2 separate regions of the Homo sapiens genome follow, and region 2 is linked to region 1. Evidence: promoter capture Hi-C in human tissues and cell types (Jung and others, 2019). All regions are on one chromosome and are shown on one strand. The core of a region is centred on a gene start or on the middle of the fragment in contact, and the rest is flanking DNA. Distances in the headings are between cores, read along the strand shown. Region 1 holds the start of FSIP1 (fibrous sheath interacting protein 1). Region 2 overlaps EIF2AK4 (eukaryotic translation initiation factor 2 alpha kinase 4).

Evidence for each region. The method cuts DNA at HindIII sites, captures the fragments that hold promoters and counts their contacts. A contact is called where the count stands out against the background at its distance.
Region 2: a contact is called between a fragment that was not itself captured here and the fragment with the promoter of FSIP1 in region 1, in 1 of the 25 tissues and cell types used here (IMR-90 fibroblasts).

What each region holds. Positions count from the first base shown.
Region 1 is chr15:39,781,323-39,784,156 of GRCh38, reverse strand. FSIP1 (fibrous sheath interacting protein 1) reads left to right here and starts at 1,316. Exons shown (of 12, transcript NM_152597.5): 1 at 1,316-1,529. LOC105370941 (a long non-coding RNA gene) reads right to left here and starts at 1,251. Exons shown (of 1, transcript NR_135665.1): 1 at 1-1,251. RefSeq lists an enhancer at 1,077-1,206 and a silencer at 1,507-1,686. The HindIII fragment of the contact is 15,521 bases long and covers 1-2,834 here.
Region 2 is chr15:39,995,257-39,997,956 of GRCh38, reverse strand. EIF2AK4 (eukaryotic translation initiation factor 2 alpha kinase 4) reads right to left here. Exons shown (of 39, transcript NM_001013703.4): 19 at 892-993. Among named protein-coding and RNA genes, the nearest start is that of SRP14, 43 kb to the left of the region's middle. The HindIII fragment of the contact is 8,851 bases long and covers 1-2,700 here.

The sequences.
Region 1 (2,834 bases), core at 67-2,566:
TCTAGGTCGGCTGCTAAGTTTTAATTCTCATAGGAGGATTAGGATACTTTCTCCCATTTTCTTCAGTTTGCAACTTTTTTTCTTTTGAGATTTGGAAAGCCACATAAATTCCCTGAGAAATGCTGGGAAGAAATCCCTGCACAGAAACACTAACAATGAGGACAGTGAGGCTGGAACCAGGTTTACCAGGGGAAAGCAGTAGGTAGGAGTGGAGGTCAGAGAGCCAACAGAAAGCCTTATCATTTAGAGATGATGTCAGTATGAACCTGAATGGAAGCACTGAAGTTGTGACGAATGTTTGGATTCTGAATATATTTTGAATGTTGAGCTGATAGGACAAATAGATTGTAGAGTGAGAGAGGAAGAAGAATTGAGGATGACTCCAAGGTTTTTGGTCTAGGCATGGCAGGCTGAAATTACCATTTGCTGAGATGGATAGAAAGTGGGTGGGGGACTCTGGAGAAGTTGTTTTTTCCCGTGTTAAGTTTGAGATGCTTACACATCTAAGTGGATATGCCAAATAGGCAGTTAGGTAAAGGAGTCTGGAGTTCAGGGAAGTCTGGGCTGGTGATAAGATGCAGGATTCAGGAGCATAGGGATGGCATTTATAGCCAGGTTTTTATACCCAGCACTCGCCTAGACTGCAGCTGTGTTCTTTCGGCAACTCAGCCTACGACTATTTGCTTCGCTGAAAAAAAACCACATCGTACCTAGTTAAAACAATGAGGACAAAGGGGCCATGAATGTGAAAATGCCCTGTAAACGGTAATGTGCTGTTCAGACTGGAAAGCAGGAGAAATGATGGCAATGGAGGTGAGGAAAATCAGTTTGTGGACGTAGGGAAATAATTTTCGTGCACTGAGAATTAGAGAAACTACGAAATGAAAGAAGGTGCAAAAAGCAATTATAACTCTTTTTGGACTGTAGCCGAATCTGTGCAAAACTCATATTTTTAAAATTTCCATAGCACCCCAAATTTACTAGAGCTTCACATACATGGTCTTTTTGAGCTGCACAAGTCTTGTAAGAAGGGAATTATTATTGTTCCCATTTTACGGAGGAGGAAACTGTGCTCGGAGAGGATAACTGACCTGTAAGGCATCACAGCAATATGAGGGACAGAGATACACAAGCATCCAGACGTCCGCGTTCCGAATCCAACCTAAAGACGAAAAATCGCTCCCAACCCCCACCGTCGGCAGCGAAGACGGAAGGACACACGCCGGCCGTCCCAGCTCGCAGGGCTCCAACAGCCGCCGGCCCCGGTCCCATTTCCGGATGGTACAGCCCTTTCCGCTATCGCGAGACCGGAAGCATCGCGCATCTGGTTGCCAGGGAAACAGCGGTCCCACAGGCAGGAGGGATCTGGACCGGCGGCTTCTTCCACTACCAGAGAGGCTGAGGTGGCGGGAGAGACCCCTCTCCTCTGGGGGTAAGTGGCTGGCGCGGCGAGTGTCTGCGGCGCGCTTCTGCGGCCATCTGCGCCCTGACTGACGGCGGCCAGTTCCTCGAGGAGGCCCGGCGGGAAGGTGAGGGGCCGCGCAGATGAGGGCGGAGCTCGGTCGCGGGGCGGTGCGCCGAGGAGTGGGCGGGGCGGAGCTGCGTCGGGCCGCTTGGCATGTAGATGGACTGTCAGGGAGAGCGGACAGGGCCAATGAGAGGGCGGGGGCGGGCTCATTGGGGGCGGGGCCCCAGCGGCTTCTGCCTCCGCGGAGGCTATTTCTCCAGGAATCACCTAACATTAGGACCTGTAACCAAGGCTTCTACTTTCCCGAGATTTGGATCTTCCCACCAAGATCTAGAACTGATCACCAGCCATTTAAACTAGACCGTAAACGGCAAAGGATGCAAATAGGCATTTCACAGGAAAAATAAAAAGATGCAAACAGCAAACAATTGATTAGAGACTCAACTTTTCTCGTGAAGAAATGTAAACCAAATTCACAGATACCTTTTACACCTATGAGACTGGAGAAGATGAAACAGCTTTGACATAACCAGATGGGCCCCAGCCCAGTGTAGGGGAAGTAGTGTAATTTGGTGCAGCCTTTTTGGAGTACAATTTGGCGAACTACCAAAATTTGAAACATAAGTGTTCTTTGACTCAGCAATTCTAATATATTTTATGGATGTATGAGCATAACTAAAGAAAGATTGGCACAAATATATTAACTTAAAATTGAGGTATAACTTACTTATGGTAAGCCTCACCCATTTAATCTACAGTTCTGTGAGTTTTGACAAATGTATACAGTTATGTAATTACCAACCACCACAATCAGCATACGGAAGTTTCATCATGAACCCCAAATTCCCTAGTGCTCTTTGTATTTAATCCCTCCCCTAACGCCATCCCTGGCAACAACTTCCTAGTTTTTTGTTCCTGTAATTTTGCCTATTCCAGAATGTCATATTGATGGAAGCAAACACCCTGTGGCCTTTTGAATCAGGCTTCTTTCAGCTTAGCATCATGCAGTTGCTATTCATTCATGTTCTGTGTATCAGTTGTTCCTTTATGTTGCTGAGTAATAGTCCATTGTATGGATCTACGGTAGTATATTTATCCATTTCCTACTTGAGGCATATTTGGATGAGTTCTTTCCAGTTGTTGGCTATTATTGATGAAGCTGGTATAAATATTCATGTACAGGTTTTTTTTTGTGTGTGTGAATATGTTTTCATTTCTTGGGTAAATATGAATGAGATTGTGGAGTCATATGGTAAATATATGTTTAACTTTATAAGAAACTGCTAAGCAGTTTTGAAAAGTGATGATTTTGCATTGTCATTGGCAATATGAGTGTTACAGTTGCTCTCCAACTTTGTCAGCACTT
Region 2 (2,700 bases), core at 117-2,616, 210 kb before region 1:
CGTGTTTATGAATTAACTTAATAAATATTCCTGCTTCACTCTGCTCAGTAAGAAAGAAGGTGGCTCTCCAGATGTCTCGCTCATAAATATGTGAATTTAAATCACTCTCACCCAAACCTCACTCTTCACTTTCATCTTAATGCGGTTTGCTCATGGGCATCTCTGACCTCGCACATGTAACACTGGTCCCTTTTTAGCTCAGGCAGTAAATGAGGCAAGGATTAATCCCAAGAACACAAATGGAAATTTCATTGGGAAAAACATTTCAAGGGGCAGATATTTTTTTCGGACCCGTTTTAACTTCTGGTCTTGGTAGTTTTCTTTAGACGTTACTACAACTGGCCCATTCAACAGGCATCTTTAACTTCTAGAACTAAATACCCATTTCTTTACAATCTACTCCCTTGTTATAACCATATTCATATCAAGCCCAATTTTGTGGCTTCTTCCTTTGCTTTAAAATCAAGAGTAAATCTCAGAATAATTTTTTAAAAAGCAACTATAACCTAGCAATTTCTCCAGGTAAGATTTCCAAAAACAAACAAAACTGGGGCAAGTTTCCCATCATCAGAGGTAGGGTTCCATTTACCTCACTGTGGAAACATAGTGGAGAGACCAGTAAGATCCCTCCTACATGCTGATGATCTTTGGCTCCCAAAACTGCTATTTTAAGAATTTAACTGAGGTGACTTCCTTTGCTCAGAAAAATGTTTCACTAAAAATGGGAAAACTGGTTAGTCTTGCATATCTGAATAAATGAGTCATTAAAATTACAGTAGGGCAGCCTCTTCTATATTATAAATACCAGAAAAATATCCTGCTTTGAATTCTGATCTCTGTGCTAAGATTCCGGTTACTGAAAATGTAGGCACTAAAACACCTGATACATACATCTCTGAGTTGGTTGAGAACAAAGATCCTTTCTGAAGCCGTGACCATGGGGTGATAGGACATCTCAAAGAAGATAATTCCCAGGCTGAAGAGATCCACTTTCTGAGGGGGAAGAATAATTGCATTTAGAGAGCCTTGATATGAAAGTATAATTTACCAGGGAATTATAGGATAAGCATTGTTAGCTGAAATAAAGTTTGTAGGAGTACAAAACAGGTCACACTGGAAAAATGCGAAGATTTGTTCTTAAAAATTATGGTTATAAAGGCTAAATGATATATTTTGTATTCAGATGATGATAAAATATTTGGCATGATGTCTTTAAACATTTTCCTAGAAATTTTTTTTCTTTTTTGAGGCAGAGTCTCACTCTGTCACCCAGGCTGAAGTGCAGTGGTGCAGTCTCGGCTCACTGCAACCTCTGCCTCCTGGGCTCAAGCAATCCTTCCACCTCAGCCTCCCAAGTAGCTGGGACTACAGGTGTGCACCACCATGCCCAGCTAATTTTTTTGTGTGTATTTTTTGTACAGAGTGGGTTTTGCCATGTTGCCCAGGCTGGTCTCCAACTCCTGGACTCAAGTGATTCACCCACCTTGGCCTCCTAAAGTGCTGGGATTACAGGCATGAGCCAACACGCCTGGCCTTCCTAGAAAATTAATGGTAACTGGTTTAGTTGTATCCACAGACATAGAAAACCACTGGCTGAAAACTGGAAATAATGGCTGAAGAGCAAGGACAACTGAGATTGATCATAAGAATTTGCTTTGTTTCACATCTTAGCTAACCATCTTAAAAGTGAAACACAGACCAAAATCTGCGGCTGATAGAAAAGGCCAGCTCCTGACTACAGGGTCATATGGCCTTCAAAAAGAAGAGAATCTTGCCATTTGTGACAACATAGATGAACCTGCAGGACATTATGTTAGGTGAAATAAGCTAGACACAGAAAGGCAAATACTACATGATCTCACTGGTATGTAGAATCTAAATAAAAGTCAAACCCACAGTAACAGAGAACAGAATGATGGCTACCAGGGGCTGGGGACTGGGGGTCAAGGGGAGGTGCTGGTCAAAGGGCACGCATTTTCAGTTATAAAATGAATACATTCTGGAGATCTAAAGCACGGCATGGTGACTATAATTAATAATAACGCATTGTATTCTTGAGGTTTGCTAAGAAAGTAGCTCTCAAGCGTTCTTACCATACACAAAAAATGGAAACCAGGTGAGGTGATGGGTATGTCGGTCAGCTTCGCTGTGGTAATCATTTCACAATGTAAACATATATCAAAACATCACATTGTACACCCTAAATATAGACAAGTTTCATCAATCATACCTCCATAAGCTAGGAAAAAAATAAAAAATAAATAAAAATAAAAAGCTACAGAAAAAAACACTAAAGTCAAAAAACTAGAAGGATATAAATAATCAAGATAACTATTAAATAATTGACAAAAACAAAAAAAGTATCTACAATAAAAAGAAAAAAGAAGCAAAAAGGCAAGTCAGTGCAGAGAAAATCTAAGTAGGGTGCCACGAAGGAGAAGATGGCGTTGGGAAGGGAGTGCATCTGAGGAAACCGAGCATGACACAGCTGCCGAGGAAAAGACTGCACATGGTCAGGGGCACAGAGGTGCAGGGTGTAGAGCCGCTTTCAGGACAATGGAAAACATTTTCAAGCAATACTCTTGAATACATTTGGACTCAAAGAGGGGGCGGCGAGACTCTTGGATTGTCACTGGTGACCTCCGACATCTTAAAAACATTCACTGTGGCATTTCCTATACGTGTTGGCTATAGAAAACA